6 separate regions of the Homo sapiens genome follow, and regions 2, 3, 4, 5 and 6 are each linked to region 1. Evidence: promoter capture Hi-C in human tissues and cell types (Jung and others, 2019). All regions are on one chromosome and are shown on one strand. Each heading gives the region's core, a stretch centred on a gene start or on the middle of the fragment in contact. The rest is flanking DNA. Distances are from core to core; before and after follow the strand shown.

Evidence for each region. Contacts are between HindIII fragments. The study calls those that stand out against the background at their distance.
Region 2: a fragment that was not itself captured here is called in contact with the fragment with the promoter of ADCY2 in region 1 in 2 of the 25 tissues and cell types used here (hippocampus and mesendoderm cells).
Region 3: a fragment that was not itself captured here is called in contact with the fragment with the promoter of ADCY2 in region 1 in 2 of the 25 tissues and cell types used here (hippocampus and mesendoderm cells).
Region 4: a fragment that was not itself captured here is called in contact with the fragment with the promoter of ADCY2 in region 1 in 1 of the 25 tissues and cell types used here (dorsolateral prefrontal cortex).
Region 5: a contact is called between a fragment that was not itself captured here and the fragment with the promoter of ADCY2 in region 1, in 1 of the 25 tissues and cell types used here (mesendoderm cells).
Region 6: a contact is called between a fragment that was not itself captured here and the fragment with the promoter of ADCY2 in region 1, in 4 of the 25 tissues and cell types used here (adrenal gland, dorsolateral prefrontal cortex, hippocampus and 1 more).

What each region holds. Positions count from the first base shown.
Region 1 is chr5:7,394,494-7,397,740 of GRCh38, reverse strand. It overlaps ADCY2 (adenylate cyclase 2), which reads right to left and starts at 1,603. Exons shown (of 25, transcript NM_020546.3): 1 at 1,235-1,603. The coding sequence starts at 1,444. It overlaps LOC107986403 (a long non-coding RNA gene), which reads left to right and starts at 1,792. Exons shown (of 2, transcript XR_001742597.2): 1 at 1,792-3,247. RefSeq lists enhancers at 1,522-2,287, 2,288-3,053. The HindIII fragment of the contact is 8,449 bases long and covers 1-3,247 here.
Region 2 is chr5:7,152,004-7,155,250 of GRCh38, reverse strand. No RefSeq gene overlaps it. Among named protein-coding and RNA genes, the nearest start is that of LINC02196, 120 kb to the right of the region's middle. The HindIII fragment of the contact is 4,643 bases long and covers 1-3,247 here.
Region 3 is chr5:7,222,117-7,225,363 of GRCh38, reverse strand. No RefSeq gene overlaps it. Among named protein-coding and RNA genes, the nearest start is that of LINC02123, 120 kb to the left of the region's middle. The HindIII fragment of the contact is 5,643 bases long and covers 1-3,247 here.
Region 4 is chr5:7,567,344-7,570,590 of GRCh38, reverse strand. All of the region lies in intron 3 of ADCY2 (adenylate cyclase 2), which reads right to left. Among named protein-coding and RNA genes, the nearest start is that of ADCY2, 170 kb to the right of the region's middle. The HindIII fragment of the contact is 4,173 bases long and covers 1-3,247 here.
Region 5 is chr5:7,241,886-7,245,132 of GRCh38, reverse strand. No RefSeq gene overlaps it. Among named protein-coding and RNA genes, the nearest start is that of LINC02123, 100 kb to the left of the region's middle. The HindIII fragment of the contact is 4,921 bases long and covers 1-3,247 here.
Region 6 is chr5:7,535,827-7,539,073 of GRCh38, reverse strand. All of the region lies in intron 3 of ADCY2 (adenylate cyclase 2), which reads right to left. Among named protein-coding and RNA genes, the nearest start is that of ADCY2, 140 kb to the right of the region's middle. The HindIII fragment of the contact is 7,014 bases long and covers 1-3,247 here.

The DNA.
Region 1 (3,247 bases), core at 354-2,853:
AGCTACCATTGAGTGGTGTGGGGGAATTTTTTTATTTTTTAAAAACATGATGGTAACAATTCTTCCCATGCATAACATTTGAACACCATCTGGCTCCGGACATCCTAAACAAATTGCCAAATACCAAGGACAGCTATTTTATGCATGGTGAAATATAAGCAAAATCCACTTCTTTGGTGGTGGACACATATAAATATAGGCACATATTTATATTCTAAGCTCAAAATACATCACCCAGTGGACACATTCACAGATCAACCACTGACTAAAAAAAAAAAAAAAAAAAAAAAAAAAACTCACTGGTGGATAATCAATGCCTCGCACAAAATCTGCACATGCATGTCACAGGCAGTGCAAAAGTTTGAACCACACACTCAGAGATCAGTAACAGGAAGTTATCGCCATCTACAGACTTCCCCTCACTTTTCAAGGGAGCGAGCCAAGGATTTCTGCTTGAAAAATATAAACTGGCAAAACTGACATCAGCTGTTGAGCTGCATTATACTCCTCGTGATGAAATCCACTTTAATAACCTGTCCAAAACCCTAAACACGTTACTTCTTTAGAAACGGGAAAGCAATCGTCCGTCCCAAACGCTTCTTAACTGTAGTCTCTGAGATGAAAGATTGATTCACAAGTCAACACCACATCACTTTCCGTCTATCGGGCTAAAGAGCTAAATGCATACAGATTTAAAGGCAAAGATGTATACTTAATTTTTCTTCTTCATTTTCCTTGTCATTAACCACTTTCCCAAGGCAGGCTTTCTGCAGAGTTGAATAACGCCCAATCCCAACTAAAATGCCAACTGTGGGGCCATGCCAGTGGAACCGGGCAGGAGACAGCGACTCGCCCAGGAAGCCCAGGGCTGAGTCGGGGAAGACCTATTCCAGCGCTGCGGGCAGCGGTGCCCGGCGGAAAGCGCAGAGTTTGCCAGCGGGTGCGCAAAGATGCAAAAAGCACACGCCCTGCCCGTCCACCTGGTGAACACCTCGGGAACTTTATTTTGGGAAGAGCCTTCCCAGGAAACTTTTCTCCCGCCCGCAGCCCTTGCCAGAGTCCACCGGGCCGCGGGCCAGCAGGAGAAGCAGGGAGCCGCGGGCCGAGGGGCTGCCGCGGGCCGAGGGGCTGCCGCGGGCCGAGGGGCAGCCCGGAGCGGGACGCGGCTCGGCTGGCCGGGCTCCTCTCAGGGCCGGGGAAGGCGCGGCGCTGGACCCGCGGGGAGGCCACTCACCAGCCCGAGCGCGAAGAAGACGGCGAGCAGGGCGAGGCAGGAGCCCATGACGATGAGCAGCAGGAAGACGATGAGCGGGTGCTGCTGGCTCATGCAGTAGTAGGACTCGTAGAGCCAGTCCCGGGACCGCGGCAGCCCGTCTCCGCCGCCCGCCGCCTCCTCGGAGCGGTCCCGCAGGTAGCGGCGGCGCCGCATCGCCTCCTGCCACATCGGGGCCGCTCACAGGGCGCCCGCCGTGCGCGCCCGGCCCGGGCAGCGCCGCTCGCCGCGGCCGCCCGCGTCCCACCCCCGCGCCGCCTCGGCCGGCCCGGCTGCCGGCACCCGGAGCTGCGCGCAGGGGCCTCCGGCGCGGGCGGAGCTCGGCGCCCCGGGCTGGGCGCGCTGACGCGCGGGCGGGGGCCGGGCGGCGGCCTCGGGGGCAGCTCCCGGCGCCGCCGCCGCCACCGCCACCGCGCGGGAGGGGGCGGGTTCCACGGGGCCCTCCGCCCGCCGCTCCCCGCCCCGCGCGCAGCCGGCCTCCGTGCAGGGGCGGTGTCGGCCCCCACCCGACGGCCCGGCTGCAGGCTGGGGACGGCGGGGGCTGTACGGTGGGGGGAGTGGCGAACTGAGGGGCTCCCGCTGCGCCCCGGCCCGGGGTCGTCCTCGCCCGCCGGCCTCCCACACTCAGCCACCAGGTCGTCCACCTCCTCTGCCCTATCCCGAGTGCAGCGTGGGTGGGGTGGGAGGGACGGCCCTCCCCGCTACGAAGTGAGAACACAGCCTAAGGGGTGGAGGGAGGGAGTCCTACCCCCACCACTCCCCCCGCCCCACCTGGCTCGGAGCACTGCGGGGCTCCTCAGCTCCTCTCCACTACCTCAAGGTCAGCGGGCAGGGACGCTGCCACCCTCCTGTTTCCTCCACCCCTTAGTGGGCTGCGGGGCCTGCTCCCACCCTCCCCCACAGTCACAGAGCGCAGCCGGGGTCAGAGGACCCGGGGGGTCCCTCCTTTAGTACGCGGGTCAGAGGACAGCGGGGTCTCCCTCCTTTTCACTCTTTTGGGGAGCTGGAGAGGATTTCCCACCCTTCCCGCCTCCCCGCGGTGGGCACCGGTTTGCCGTCCAGCCCTTCTTCCCCTCAGCGTAGCAGGGTTGAGGGCTCCCCCATCCTCTCCACCCTCTTGAGAGGGCCGGGGCTCCCTGCGAGGGCGGCAGGGCGCGGAAACGCCAGGGGACCTAACTGGAGACCGGCACCATGTGGAAGTGAAGCGGCAGTGACTGCACTGGGAGCCCCCGCCACGGCCTCGCGGGGGCAGCGTCCGTTGCGCCCTGCACGCTCAGCTTCAGTCACACTTTGGAGGTGCCGTATAAGCCTGTCATATCACAGGTTTACAGAGCTGCCCCGTGGCTGGTCGTGGTCCTCGCCGAGCCCCTCTGCTGAGCGGGGATGGCGGCAAAGGGGCGCCGGGGAGAGCGGCTGGGCGCGGGAGCGGGCGGGTCGGCCCTGGGAGTAGCTCCCTCCCTGTCACCTTGGGGGCCTGGACGCAGGAGGCGCTAGAGACCCGGCAGGAGCGTTGTGGGGGCGGATGTCACCAGGGACAGTGTCCCCTCCCGACACGCGTGGGAGCGGAGGCCGCTGGCCTTCGCCCTGGGGGCCGAAGGGGCTTCATTGCTTATCACCAAAGGAACCCACCCTTCTGGAAGTTTCCTCCTATTCGAGTGTGGTCCGGCCCAAAGAGCCCCCAAATCCCACCTCCTCCCCCAAAGCCTTACCCCAAGGAATCCAAGGCACAAGAGCCCTCCCTTCTCCTGCCACCAGCGAGCATCCCAGAGGGCAGCCCCAGAGGGCTGTTCCATGCACTTTTCATCTCTTCCAGGAGATGACCAGCTCTCAGGACTCAGCCTTGTCACCACCTAAGACCTCAGAACCTTCTCGAATGGCCCCATGCCCCGCCTCCCTGGCTGTCCTGTCCTCCTCGCTGGCAGAGGGCATGTAAGCTAGGTAGCTGCGTTACCCTGAGCACAGGGCCAGGCCGGG
Region 2 (3,247 bases), core at 419-2,918, 240 kb after region 1:
AACCATATGATCCTCTTAATAGATGCAGAAAAGTATTCAATAAAATTCATTATCCCTTCATGATAAAACCCTCAACAAACTAGACATCAAAGGAAAATACCTTAAATTAATAAAACGTATACATGACAAATCCACAGCCAATATCATATTAAATGGGGAAAAGCTGAAAGCATTCCCCCAAGAACTGGAGCAAGATAAGAATGCTAGCTTTCACCACTCCTATTCAACATAGTACTAGAAGTTTTAACTAGAGCAATCTAGCAAGTGAAAGAAATAAGAGTTACTGTTTGCTCCATGATACAATCTTATACCTAGAAAACTCCAAAGACTCCTCCAACAGACTCCTAAGTTTTATAAATGACTTCAGTAAAGTTTCAGGATACAAAATCAATGGTATTTTTATACATCAATAAAGATCATGCTCAGAACCAAAACAAAAGCTCATCCCATTTACAATAGCTACAAAACAATAAAATCACTAGAAATACATTTAACCAAGTAGGTGAAAGATCTCTATGAGAAGAACTACAAAACACTGATGAAAGTAATAGTGGATGACACAAACAAATGGAAAATCATTCCATGCTCATGGATTGAAAGAATCAATATCATTAAAATGACCATATTATCCAAAGCCATCCACAGATTCAATGCAATTTCTATCAAATTACTAGTGTCATTTTTCACAGAATTAGAAGAAACAATTCTAAAATTTATATGGAATCATAAAAGAGCCTGAATAGCCAAAGCAATCCTAAGCAAAAAGAACAATATGGAAGGCATTACATTACCTGACTATAAATTATACTACAAGGCTACAGTAATCAAAACAGCATGATACTGTGCATAAAAATAGACACATAAATCGGTGGAACAGAATAGCAAACCCAGAAATAAAGCCACATACCCTCAACCAACGGATATTCAACTAAGTTGAAGGATACCTTGTGCAAAGGACACCCTATTTAATAAACAGTGTTGGGAAAACTGGATAACCATGTGCAGAAGAATGAAACTAGATCCCTATCTCTAACTATATACAAAAATTAACTCAAGATGGATTAAATACTTAAATGTAATACCCGAAACTATAAAAATTCCAGAAGAAAACCTAGGAAAAATTCTTCTGGACATTGGCATAGGCAGGTAATTTATGACCAAGACCTCAAAAGCAAGTGCAACAAATATAAAAATAGGCAAATGAGACTTAGTTAAAATAAAGCTTCTGCAAAGCAAAAGAAATAATCAACAGAGTAAACAGACAACCTACAGAACTGGAGAAAATATTTACAAACTATTCATCCAACAAAGCCCTAATATCCAGAATGTACAAGGAACTCAAACTACTCAACAAGAAAAAAAAACCCTATTAAAAAGCAGGCAAAAGACATGAAAAGACATTTTTCAAAAGAAGACATTCAAGCAGCTAACAAACATAAGAAAAAATGCTCAACATTACTAATCATCAGAGAAATGCAAATTAAAACTACAATGAGATTTCTCCTTCCACCAGTCAGAATGACTATTATTATAAAGTCTAAAGACAACAGATGTTGGGGAGTGTGCAGAGAAAAGGGAACAACTGTACACCATTTGTGGGAATGTATATTAGTACAATCTTTATGGAAAAGAGTATATCACAGCCCTATTCACAATTGCAAAATCTTGGAATCAACCTAAGTGTCCATCAACAGAGATTTGGTAAAGAAAATATATATATAAATTTTGTCTGAATTATTAAAAATCTTGTCTGAATTCATATTCCATTATATATATATGGAATAGTATTCAGCCATAAAATAACAAAATCATGGTTTCTGCAGCATCATGCATGGAACTAGAGGCCGTTATTCTAAGTAAAATCACTCAGAAATGGGAAGTCAAATGCCATGTTTTCTTCTGTAAGTGGGAACTAAACAATAGGTACACATGGACATACAGAGTAAAATAATAGACACTGGAGCTCTGAAGTTGGGAAGGTAGGAGAGAGGTGAGGGTTGAAAACTGCCTACTGAGTACGGTGTTCATTATTTGGGCAATGGGTACAACTAAAAGCCCAGACTTTGCCACTACACAGTATATCCGTATAACAAAACTGCACTTGTATCCCCTAAATGTATAACAACAAAACAATAAAATGGGGAAAATGATACTATACAAACAAGAGGGCTTCAAAAAGTTCATAGAAAATGTGCATTATAAAAAAACTATGCACGTATTTCAAAATTTTTTGCACCAAAATAAACTCATACTAACTTGTTATTACCTCACTGAATAGGATCTAGTTTGAGGCATTAGGAAGCATAAGGTATCAGTTTGAAAAGATTCCCTACCAAAGCAACATAAATTCTGCTAAAACTGGAGCAAAAACAAACACCAAATTTATGGTGAAGCTGGGGTTGAAGAATGGTAAAATCATTGACACTTTACAAAAAGCTTATGGAGGCAAGAGTCCCAAAGAAATCAGCAGTTTATAAATAGATAGCTTGTTTTAAGAAGACACAAGATGATGCTGAAAATGCGGCCCACAGAATCAGACCATTCACATCAATTTGCAAGGAAACAATTTAACTTTTTATGCCTTAATTGAAGAGCACCAATGATTAACAGCAGAAACAATAGCCAACATAGACATCTCAATTGGCTCAGTTTACACATTCTGGTTAAAAAATTAAAGTTAAACCAACTTTCTACTCAATGGGTGCCAGAACCATTGTGCCCAGGTCAACTGCAGACAAGAGCAGATCTTTCAATGGAAATTTTAAACAGGTGGTATCAAGATGCTGAAGCTTTTCTTTGAAGAATTGTAAGAAGAGATGAGACAAGGCTTTACTCATATGATCCTGAAGACAAAGCAAAATCAAAGCAATGGCTACCAAGAAGTAGAAGTGGTCCAGTCAAAGCTAAAGCAGACCAGTCAAGAGCAAACATCATGGCAACAGTTTTTTGTGATGCTCAAGGCGTTTTGCTTGTTGGCTTTCTGAAGGGCCAAAGAATGATAGCATCTGCTTATTATGAGAGTGTTTTGAAAAAGCCAAAATGTTAGCAGAAAAACGTCTGGGAAAGCTTCACCGTAAAGTTCTTCTCCATGACAACAATGCTCTTGCTCAGTCTTCTCATCAACAAGGGCAATTTAGCAATAGTTTTTCTGGGAAGTCATTAGGAATCTACCTTACAGTTCTGATTTCGCTCCTTCTGACCCTCAGTTCTTTAGGGATGAACTAAATAGCTGGTATTATTGCTTACA
Region 3 (3,247 bases), core at 314-2,813, 170 kb after region 1:
AACAAAATTCTGGATAATTAAACATCTAATTGTAAACATGAAATGTTAAAAATTTGAGAGTTCTGTTTTCTACTCAGGGATGTGAAGAGTTGGAAGAAATACTGCTCACACTGTTACAGCAAGAACAAAATTAGGCAAATTGCAAGTTCCTGATGATTGAGTTGCACCCATCAGAGAGCTGAGGTCACAGAGCAACTAAAGAACTCAAATTCTAGGGAGGAACCAGTGTCCATAGAAAGAGATGAGACTCCAGCACCTGCTGCCCTGGCTCAGATGCATCTGGACCCAGTTAGTAGAGTTCTGTAGAAATAGTCAATGAATCCTGGTGAAGGCCAAATGCAGGCTGGTGAGAGCCTGTGCTGCACCTGGGGGATGCAAATAATTGGGGTGGGGGTGGGGAGTTGCATCTTCATGAAGATCTTTCACCACAAACTCCACCAGATGCTCCAGGGAAGACTGTGGAGTCCTGACAAAGATGCCGGGGGGCATAGAAAGGTGATGCAAAAATCAACCTGGATCCCTCTGCCCCATTTTCCCATCACAATAAAGTTGTCATCTGCTGGGGGGTAAGATGGGCAACAGAACTGTCTTGCAGCTGAGGGAAGGGAAGAGAATAAAGACTGTCAGCCCTGGAGGAGGGGTGAGAATACATATCAGATCCAAACCTCCAGCTGGAGAAGAGGCATGGTTCTTGTGGAGGCCATGAGACCCAGGGATACAAGCTGTAAGACCAAGGGATAATCAGGACATCAGAACTCCGTCCATCCCAGGGCAGCAAATAAGCATCAGTTAAAAGTAATATTGAAACATTACTAGGAAGCATGCATGAGACAGGCTCTCCCTGAGGATCAGGGAAAAGGGATACGTAAAGCTGAAGATGGGGCAGACTTTGAGAAGAAACCTCTAGAAACTCAGACTCCATACCAAACCCAAGGTATTGCTAGGAGAGTTTGAAGCCTGCAATACTCTGAAGGTAAACACAGCAACAAGAAACCTCAAGCCCAGCACAACTGCTGACTGGATCAAGGATCAGCAAAACATGGCTCACAAGGCAAATGCCTACCCTGCCTACTTGATAAATAAAGTTTCACTGGGGCATGGCCATACCCACATTTTATGTATTGTCTGAGGCCACTTTCATGAGACAGTGGCAGAGCTGTGGTGATCCAATGGCCCACAACCCTAAAATATTTACTAGTTGCCTCTTTACAAAAAAAAAAAAAAATTATCCCGATCTTTTGACTAGATTAACAAAACCCACCACAGGAATGAATGAGCAAAAGGAAAGGTGTACATAGAACTGTTTACCCAGTGTTGAAGTATTCTAGATGTCTTTCAGGCAAAAAAAAAAAAAAAAGCAATAAATTCCCCAAGATACTAAACAGTAAACAAAACCAGACTCAGATAAGACATAGATAGTAACTGACCAAAAATTTTAAATAACTATTATTAATATGTTGAATTTTCCAACAGAAAAAGTATATACCATGAAAGATCGATGAATAATATTAGCAAAGAGGTGGAAACTGTAAGAAAAACTCAAATAGAAATGTGACAAATGGAAAACACTGTAACAGAGATGCAGAATGCTTTCAATGGGCCCATAACACAGCTAAGAGGTGGATCAGTGTACCTGACAATATGTCAATAAAATTACTCAACTGAAACACAGAGAAAAAGACTGAAAAGTAAAAAGAAAGGGGCATCCAAAAGCTATAAAAAATATCATTGGTTATGTGCATCACTGGAAACTCAGAAGGAAAAGAGAAAATAGTGTGTAAGAAATATTTTAGGAAACAATGTCTGACAATTTTCCTAAGTGATTTTCAGACATCAAACCACAGACCCATGAAACTCAGAAACCTTCTGCAGAATATATGCTAAAATATAAAACAAACACGAAACGTCTAGACACATTTTCAAATTGTTGTAAACAAAAGATAAAGAGAAAGGCATGAAAAATGACATATAAAGGAATAAAGATAAGAATTTCAGCAGAATTCTTGTCAGAAACCATGAAAGTAAAAAAAAAAAAAAGCATTGATGACTTCAAAGTGCTGAAAGAAAATAAGGTTTGTCAATACAGAATTTAATGCTCTGTGAAAATATCCCTCAAAAATGTAAGATAAATACTTTCTTAGACAAAAACTCAAGAGAATTCATTGCCAGCAGACCCACTTTACAAGAAGTGGTAACGTCAGCTCTGCAAGGCAGAAGAAATACAATACTGGGTGAAAACTTGAATCTACAAAGTAAAAGAATGTGGAAAATGTAATCAATGTGTTATGAAATTCATGTTTTTTTATTTTCTTTTTCCTCTGAATTGCTCTGAATAATAACTGTGTAAAGCAAAAATTGTAGCACTGTGTGATGTGTTCATAGTATATGTAAAAGTGAACTGTAAGGCAACAACATCACAAATGGTAAGAAGGAAGGATTTGGAATATACACTTTTATTGTTTTTATACTACACATAAAGACATGTAATATTAATTGAATATAGACTCTTATTATGTAAGGATCTACATTTTAAACCCTAAGCTAACTATCAAAAACATGAACAGTTATAAATAATAACTCAACAATAGAAATAAAAATGGAACCATAAAAATTGCTCAAAAAACCCAAGAGAGGGCAGGAAAAGATAAAGGAAGTAGGAGATGGAACAAATAGAAAACAGCTAACAATATGGTGTGTTTTAATGAAAATATCAGTAATTACATTAAATGTACGTTGTCTTAACAAGCTAAGTAAAAATACTGTCAGATAAAATAAAAACAAGACTCAATTATGTGCTATACAAGAAACTCACTCTAAGTATAAACACATGGGTAAGTGAAAATTTAAATATAGGAAAAAATATACCAGATAAACACCAATCAAAAGAAACTTGGAGCAGCTATATTGATTTCATACAAAGTTCTCTTCAGAACAAAAGTATGGTCAGGGATAAAAAGAGACATTACACAATAATAAAGGATTTAATCTTCTAAGAAGGCAGAATGATAATATATGTGTACGCCCGTAACACAAGCACTTCAAAGTAGGTGAAACAAAAACTGATAACACTGAAAGGAAAACAAATCAACAATTAGAATTGGAGTCTTCAATACTTGTCTCCCTATAATTAATAGAATAAGTTAGGACTTAGAATCACTGAAGAACAACTTGATAAACTGGCACTTCATTTGAAAACAGAAGTATATACATTTTTAAAACTGCATATGGGGCTGGGCACGGTGGCTCA
Region 4 (3,247 bases), core at 495-2,994, 170 kb before region 1:
TATGTATTATCTTCTTTTTTTCTGCATTTTTTCTTCATCTCATCCTCATTTCTGGTCCACTTTTAGTCACTCCTACCCATGTCCAGAGGCGACAAAACACTGCTTCACTTTCTCACGTCATACTGAATTAAGAGGGAATACCTGCTCAATGTTGCCTAGACTTACAGAAGTTTAAATTTCAGTGGTTACATGAAATGTTGAAGAAAAAAAGGTTTTTAAACTGCATTTATTACAACAAAATTATAGGATGTTAAAATATTTTAGTTGGTCCATTTAAGTTTCTCATGATGATATTTAACACACAGTTCAGCTGTTCTGGTCCAAAAGTCAAGGCACCAACCAGTGGCTTGATCTAAGATTTTCTATGTTTTCATTTTGCCCCTAGAAATATGTGACTGTCAGAATTTGTAGTCACAGCCCCTCAACAAATCCCAATTATGATCTGATTGGAAATTTAATCATTCAGGGAAAAGCTTAAGTGAAATTTTCAAGCAGAAGTCATAGGGTTACACTTATAGTGATTGTGTGACCTTAATCTAGTCATTCAGTCAATCAGTTTCCTTTTAGAAAATCAATGATACTGGTTTAAAAGATATGTAAGGTCCCTTGCACTTTCAAGATTATTAATGGTTTAATAATTAATTAATGTTTATCCATTGAAAATTCATTTTCAAACCACAATGAACTTTCCCATACACGTGTGAGTAGAAGACTGAAACAGCACAGCTAAATTAAGTTGAGATTCAATGCTCAGTAACCCCAGTTGGGTCAATTACATCAGTCTTCTTTCCTTCTCCAAAGGCAGAAAACCAATCTTTCTGTCTCTCTTAAGCCTGAGCAGTTCACCATTTCAACTATGGGCTTGGAGCTCAGGAAGTCAGAGTCATACTGAGGCCACAGTTCAGAGGAATGATTAGGCAAGAAGTTAGGCAAATGGAATATGAAAAAGTCTTGTATATTCCAACTGGCTTGGTGACCTAGGGTTGGAGGGAAATTAGGGAGCTAACTATCTGGAGTACCCTGGTAACTGAAGAACCCTAAATAAACCTCTAGGGCAGCAGCTGTGGAGTGTGTCGATGACAGGTGAATAGGCATGTTCCTCAGCAATCCTGGATCATATCCTTACATTGTTTAAAGCAATTAATTATCTCTTTAGTGCCCATAATGAAGGCCAAATTATTTTGGATGAACTATGTGTGTTTTTCATGATTTGGCCCAAGTCTTTTTCAAGCCTCAAGCACTCATCCACATCCAACAGCCAGGTCAACCCACCCTTAGCAGGTGTGAGATTCCTGAACACACCTGCATTCTTAGATCTCTCTGTTATCCAGATTCTGTCCTGCGGTATCCTCTGCTTTGGAACCATCCCCACCTGCCTTAGGTGTTGCTTAGGTGTTGAAAAGTTCTTTCTTTGGTGTCCGTAGTGCCTTGCTCACATCATGCCCTACACTGAACTGGGTTGCTCATTTCCATCTCTATCCCTCCATGAGGCCATATGGATCCTGCATGATGAGCTCTTCATCTATAGCTACTAAGTAGAATAAACCTCTTAATGCAAAATAGCTTCTGTTTCAGTAGCACATTGCAGTCTACCATAGTTGTTAGTCTATTTGACAAACAGCCCATGTACAGACACTGCAGGTTTTACTGCCCAGTTTAATTGGAAAAGATGGGAAGTCTACAGATGTTCACTTAGACTCATGCAGCTCCATGTCATCATGGCTGACAAACTGAGGAAAAAAAATGTACTTCACATGCAAGGAAAGCTACGCGGCTACAAAGAATAAGACATTTTCTAGAACAGTTGTCAGTTGAATAGAATGAAATAAAATTTCACCTTGGTTATGCACTGTGCTGTGAGGAGAGGTGGTGAATTTTTGATTTAACTAGAAAATTCTAAAGTGCCGTATTTTATCTCCAAGAAGGGGAAAATTCCAGTTCTGGTAGCAGCAGCAGCAAACAGCCTATCTGGTGTGAAACCATTGCCTTTATTAGAAGCCAACACTATGGTCATGCATCAACACCTCCCATCTTGGACTCTGTTTTCACTCCCAGTGAGAAATTCCACCATTAAACTATGGAACACCTCTGGAAGTGAGACAAAGCACTCATACAACAAAATTTCCATGACCCAAGAGAAATAACTTTAAAAAAAAAAGGGCTGTCAAACAGCTAATTATTTTACCATCATTAAGGATAATACCATATGCTTCTTCAACTTTCTTTTAAATATATCTTACTAAGGATTAATTAAGAGGTATGCATCTGATTAAACCGTATCAAGACTGAAAGGCTGGAGTGCCAAAGATTAGAGCCCAAGATATTTAAATCAGTTAATATAATATCAATTAGGACTGCCAGGACCACGTGGACATGAACTGGCTATGAAATAAATGCTGCTGGAGAAATGTGTGTGAATAAAAGGAAAGCTGTAGTTTGATTTTGAGCTCTCATTCCATACTACATTGAGTGCCAAATGAACAAAAAGTGAAATATTTCTAAAAATCAGATCACAAACTATTAAAAACAAAACCCAGAATGTTGTTTTCTCTTAAATGGATAGAACCAGCTCTAATGAAAAAGGTGAGCACACAACAAGAAGGCAGTTAAAGACAGAAGACATCTGACAGAGAGAGAGAGAGAGAGAGAGAGAGAGAGAGAAAGAGAGGACGACAGAGCACTTTGTTGCATCTCAGCTTTGTACATCCATTGCTTTTTGATAATTCAGTGTAGGTTAGATTTTTCTTGTGTTTCTGTGATCTAACATACTGAATTCTTTCATAGATGCTGACCAAATAAGAAAATGTGTGTTGAATAAATACGGAAATGAGGCAATTATATAAATGTTATGTACTTCTATACAGTGAAGCCCAAGAAAACCAAGACCAAACAGGAATTGGGAAACATCAGAAATAAATATGACTGGTAGAGTTTGAATTTCCAAACTGCTTAAATAAAGCTAAACTCAACACAACCATATTAACTTAGACTCACACCCAGTCCATTACTTCATGGCTGAAAAATTGAGAAAAAATTTATACTTCACACAAACAAAGGAAGCTATACAGCTAGAAAGAAGGCCAGAAGATCAAAGTTTACACAAAAAGAACTACAAAGAAGAACACAGCCCTTGAAGAAAATGTCAGCTTCATTGGTAATTAAAGGAAAAAGGACACAAATTCCTGAAGTATCAGTTTTAACTTATCATTTTAGGGAAAAAAAATAAGCAAATGCTAAAATCCATTGC
Region 5 (3,247 bases), core at 331-2,830, 150 kb after region 1:
CACCCCAGGAGAGCTCCCAGTGCTCATGTATGTTTGAAGCAAATACTACCAAATCTTGGTAGTGGCTATTCAGTAATGATCTTATCAATGCTTTCATTTTTCTTCTTTATATCTTTATTGTCTTCCAAATCCTGTGTGATGAACTGGTATTCCTTTTACAATCAGAAAGCAATTAATGTTTCATACAAAAAATCCCTGAGAGGCACTTAACCTTTCCCACACCCTTCAAGCTGCAATCCCAGCTGATTTTCCCTCCTCTGAGACTTTCCAACCTGCCCATGCTCTCCAGCCTCCGTCCCTGGATCCCCCAGCCTCCCCCTGCTCCTTGCTTCTGGGCTTGCTGTCCTTAACTTTAACTTTCAGCATTGGCAGAACAGTTAATGAAAAATGCATGATTTTACCTGTTGTAAAAAATAACTGTAACTCAGCCATCCCGCTTCGTGTGCTCCTTTGAAATATTGGACTTCTTGACTTCCAGCTATGCAAATGGGGAGAGACAAAGAGGATATCTGGGAAATGGGGCTTATGGTCACACCTAAAAATTGGCTTCTATTACATCTATTCAGATTCTGTTGTCCAGAATTCAATCACACAGCCCCAGCAGAGCTGCAGGGGAAACTGAGAATTGCCTTATTTGTCTGCCCAGGAGAAGGAAGTGGGGTTGGAAATGGGATGTCATCAGGTTTTGTAGCACAAGATCAGAGTCCAGAGATCAGGTCTTGCTGCAGCGCAAGACCACAGGAGGAGTCCACAGTGCAGTGCCCAGTGTTCCCCATGGGCCCATTGACTGTGCTCTGGTCTCCTGACCTCAGCTGATGTGGGATCCACTTCCAGCACATTACATTAGATAGGCCGTTATTCCTCCTGGAAACTCAAATAGCCAGGCACTTAATAAACGGCTCAATCCCATTCTTACTTCAAGCCATAAGGATATCTATGTAGAGTCCCCAAAGTAAACACACAAACTAATGACCGTGGGTTGCAATAGATATTTTTTATTCCCAATATTTCAAAAAACATCCTTTCTCCCACACTCTGCTAGAATTCAGCTTATCAGAAATTTATTTATTTTTCTTCTTCTGTGGAAGTAAAGAGAGAGATCTGCTTGGAACCATCCTCAGAAAATATGAAACAGCTTTGAGTGCAAATGTATGATGCCTGCTCTCATGCCTCTCACTTATGAAGTAGGGGAAGATGTTCCTTATTGTTGTTTGCTGCAGGTCTTGTCTGAGTTTGTGTTTGTAGAGTGCTCACTTAGTCTGAGATGTTCTTCAGAGCATCTGTGCCATGATTCTTCTGCGGCTTCCACCTGCACTGGGTGACACTAGCCTGGGACTAAAGCTTCCTCCTGCTGCCTCACTCACTGTGCCCCCAGCCAACGGCCTCACCCCTCCATGCTCTGCAGTCCTCAGGCTCCAGCTCGATGATACCCTTGCATCTTCCACTGTCTTTGTGGAAGTGGAGGGGGATCTTGTCTAATCTGCCCTGTCCTTGAACCACCTTCCCTTACTCCCTGTGGATGCGTCTCATCTCTTCTTTCCTTTTCTGCTTGAAAGAAGACACTGTAATATCTGCCTCTTGTACTCAGCTTTCACTCACTCTTCAATAAATGCCTTCTCCTTATACCAGAGATTGCCAATAGTCTGTCTGCAGTGAAGATCACCTTCTGAGCTCCTGGCTCATGTGGAAGGGTCTCATGTTTATGTCTTTCCATGTGCATTTCCCACATGCATCTCAAAGACATTGTTTCCTAAAACAAATTCAGATGTCCTGGGTGGCCATCTGGCTGTCCTGCTCGTGTGTGACCTTAGGTCATTTGCCTATCCTCTTTGTCTTCAGTTTTCTCTTTTGCAAAATGGAGATGCTGTGGGGTTGTAGGGAGACAACAGATACCAACTGCTCAGAAAAAAAAAAAAAATGCTTCCAGGTAGGTCTTACCTGATTTGCTTATTATTTCCAGTATTACTGTTATTTTCTTTCCTGCCCCAAACTGCTCCTTTTTTAGCCATCTCTTTTGCAGAGAATGGCACCCCTAGCTGCTCAGGCTCCGTACCCAGAAATCTCTCCCACCCTCTCACGTGCATTGCTAAGATTTACCAATCATCTCCAAAGTCTACCTTCAATATACGAAGTTGCCTCTCTCTCTGGCATTCTCTCATCTTGCCTGGATTGCTGTGAGCATCCTGGGTGCCCCCCTTCCATTCTTGCGCACCCCAGTCCACTGGAGTGACCTGGATCACACCAGCCCTAGCATCAAAGCACTCAGTGGCCCATGTGGCTCAAATGAGACCCCTCACTATCACCTTCTGTGGCCTCTGGCTCTTCTCCTTAATTACCCCTCGCAGATCCTGTCATCTGCCTCAACCACCAAACTACAAGGTTCCGGAAGGCAGAGCAGAAGGGCTCGCTGTCTCTACTCTATCCCAACGATTAACATGCAATGGGCGCTCAAGAAACATATGTTGGAGTAAAAATTGAAAACTTCTACTTATTGAATTAATGTGGGCCCTCACTTCTCTTTGGAGCTATTCCTCAAAGTGGCTGAATCCAGTGCCTTTTCTTATTGTTCGTTTTCACAGCACAGTTCTCCTGGCTCTCAGCCCGCTAATGGCTTTCTCTCTGCTGGAGCTATTATTGAAGATTCCTTCTTCCTTTTTTTTTTTTCTTTAAGCGGCCAGGACCTACTTCTTTATCTGCCAAAACACATTCAGAATTGGGTGAACATGGCTCTTCTTCCATTAGACTCTTCCTGCCCCTCCTCAATCACTGGTAGCCTCTGCTTCCCATGAGTGCCCTGCCACGTCGTGCTTGTCCTTTGGAACTTGGCAACTTCTGCCTTGTTTGATACAGACATTATGCATGTTTGTCTGACCCCAATGGCTACTTGTTCCCACCAATCCAGGATGGCTCTGTGCAAACCATAGGCATTTAATATCTTCTATTATTTGTAGTTCTACTCTGGGGGCGAGAAAAGCAAAAGTGATGGCAACATGCTGGCCGTGAGGGACTCACGATGCTAATGCAAAGAAACAGCTCATCCTGCCCAGCTATCCCCGCTGACTTCATTCCAAAACATGTGCTGTGGTGTGGATACAGCTCCAGGCTAAGTTTTCACTGTTTACCTAAAAAGATTCATCCTATATTTAAAATGCTTACTTGATATGTGGTCACAAGTTTTTTCTTAAGATATATAGAAGATTGAGTCTGTCATATCTGAATAATAGTAACTAGTTAATAATCTGTTATA
Region 6 (3,247 bases), core at 520-3,019, 140 kb before region 1:
CTGGCCAACATGGTGAAACCCTGTCTCTACTAAAGATAAAAAATTAGCTGGGTGTGGTGACATGTGCCTGTAGTCCTAGCTACTCAGGAGGCTGAGGCAAGAGAATCACTTGAACCCGGGAGGCAGAGGTTGCAGTGAGCTGAGATCGTGCCACTGCACTCCAGTCTGGGTGACAGAGTGAGACTCTGTCTCAAAAAAAAAAAAAAAAGAAAAGAAAAGAAAAGAAAAAAAGAAAAAAGAAATTTATATTCAAAAAATTTGTGTTGAAAACCAGTGAACTACTCTTTCTGCTTGCCTTTCATGCTACATAATGGTTTCTGCAGTTTTGGACATTTAACTGTTGATCTAATTGACATAATGTTGCATTTCTTCCCATTAAGGTTTATATGATTAATCAATTAGCTGTTCTAGAAAACCATTATGGGATATCTTGCTTGATGTTTAAATGTATTAACATTTAAAATGTTAAAGTTTAAATGAGAAAACTCAAATGTTTTCTCCCATTTAAATATTTCAAGCAGAAGTTCTTTCCTAACCTTAAAGGCTGATAATGTGTGTGTTACTGAAAAATAAACAAAAAATAAGCCAGAGAGAAAGAAAGCCATAACCTAATAAACAGCCACCGTTTATTGGACACTTAACATGAGCCAAGCATTTAGCTGGGAATTACATACTCCCAATCCCTAATCCTCAGTCGTATTCCATTATTGGTCCTCTTTTACCGATAAGTAAACAGATGGCCAGAGAAGCTAAATCACTTACTAAAATTCATACAACCAATTCATGCAGAACTGGGATTGGAGCTCAAGTCTTCCTGGCTCCAAAATTAAAGCTGTTTCTATTATGGATCATGCTATCTTTGAAAAAGGGAAACATGTATTTTTATTCTGGGAGAGTCAACAAAAAATATTTTATATTATGTCTGACCAGTAAGCAGTATCTGCTATGTACCCGAGATCAAAGACAAAGTTCCTTCCCTCACGGAGCTCCCAGGGTAGATGGAGTCAGGAAAGAGAGTCCAGTGTTATTCAGGTGAGAGGAGAATTATGACTGCTCTGAGAGCTCGAATGTGAGCTCCTGGGATAGGCTCGTGGGCTATCAAAGACTTTCTGTGGGTGACACCTAGGCACTGGCCAGGTGACAGTGCTGGCATGCCCCAGATGGAGATAGAACAGACTTAACAACAGTGAGGAGAGGAATGGCCAAGCACAATCAGGGCCCTGTGAGGAGCCCAGCATCTGCAGAGCTCAGAATCCATGCAAGGGAAGGGAGGGGCCAGGCTGTGGAGGCTGCAGGGCCATGTCCTACAGGGCCTTGCATGCCGCACCAAGAGATGTGGACTACTTTGTTCTGCAGGTACTAGAAAGCTATTGAAGGATTCTAAAGGCAGACTTGAGTTTTAGAATGAGCACCTGGAAAGCAAAGGATGAGGCTGGGGGTTCCCGCAGCTCCCCAGGCAGTAAGTGATGCATTCTGACCCAGGGCAGAGGCAGAGGATGAATAGCAGGAAAGTGACTTGGGAGGACAGCAAAGAATGTGCAATAAACAGAATCTGGTGCCTAACAAGATGGAGGGGTGAGTGTGATGGAGGAGGCGACAAGTGGGTCTCCATTGAAAGGCTGGGAAGTACAGAGGATGGTGGTGCCATCTACAGAGACAGAGGACACTTGAGCAGGAAAATACTGAGTTGACTTTGGGAAATGCTTAATTTGAAAGCTTATGGGACACTGAAGTGGAGACAATGAGTTTTCTAACACTTAAGACAAACATGTATTGAAACCTGGAGCCAGGAATAAAAATGAATTTTAAATTATGTATAAATCAAAAGTCCTGTAATTAAATGGAAATGTTTTTACTTTGCAGATGTTATGAATATTAGATTTTAAAACATAGTAAATAAGAAATGAGAATTTTAAATTGGTCCAAAATGTAAGTTCAAAATAGTTTGTAAGATTTCCTATAAGAATCTAAAACCAGAATAAAATTTCTACACAGTCAGTGAGACTTTTAATCAAAATCCACAAAATTCTTTTATTTCTATAGGATATACAGAATTAAAGACAGTAAATAACTGTGATTTATTGATTACTTTAAGTCAAATTTTGATTAGAAATGACTGTTCTTACTCTAAATATGTTAGATCAACGTGAAACCTTATTTATAAGAAAAAAACTATTCCTGCACCCATCAACCCATCACCTACATTAGGTATTTCTCCTAATGCTATCCCTCCCCTAGCCCCCCACCCCCTGACAAGCCCCGGTGTGTGATGTTCCCCTCCCTGTGTCCCTGTGTTCTCCTTGTTCGACTCCCACTTATGAGTGAGAACATGTGGTGTTTGGTTTTCTGTGATAGTTCGCTGAGAATGAAAAACACTGCTAGGTAAGTAGGTAAAGGTAAACTCCAGCTGAGTCAAAAATCTAGAATGGGTTTTGATATACAGAAGATCAAGCAACAAAAAGAACTAAAAATGTTGGGAAACTAATTTGCAATGATATATTGAGGTATTGCATGGGTAAGATCCCAGTTCCTAAAGTCATCTGAGAAAATTCTTCAAGGGAGGCAATCAATCAAGGTGAGAATCAACTGACCCCACTGTTCCTGAACCGACTCTGGGGCATGTGGGGGGGATGACAGTGACGAGTGGTGCACTCCACCTGCACAGGTGAGAGTTTCAAGTCGCCTCTTGTTCTTGGCTGGGATCCATCCACCCCTGTCTAAACGACTATCATCTCCAGTACTGTAATGGCCAAATCTGCCCTACACGATTGGTCTGAGGGTGGAAATGTGTTCCACTGGGGGCACCCCCATGTCTGCAATATAGGACTTCCACCCCATAAAGGTCTGGATAATCTTCAGCAGGGAAAGTCTGGAGGATTGGCCAGAAGAAAGCCCAGCTTTGCCTCAGAGAAACTCCTTTGTACTAAATCAGGAAACACAGTCTTCAACCTGTTAATAAGCCTTACATCAGAGTTTTATAAGCCACAGCTTGCAGCAGTAAAATACTGCACTGACAAAACTTCTTGAGCTAGATGTAGGACAGTTTACTTCCAATTAATGCCCTCAGCATCTCCTATAGTATTTTTGAAAATGCCTTTTATTCCATATTAATAGGAAATCAAAATGGCGACCTTCTCTGACTGGTTAAATAGCTAAAGTTAGGTGATCTCTATTGTTCCAGAGACAAACATCGCGGGGGCTGCTTGGAATCACACACCAGCCACGATACTTTCTATGGGTCATGTTA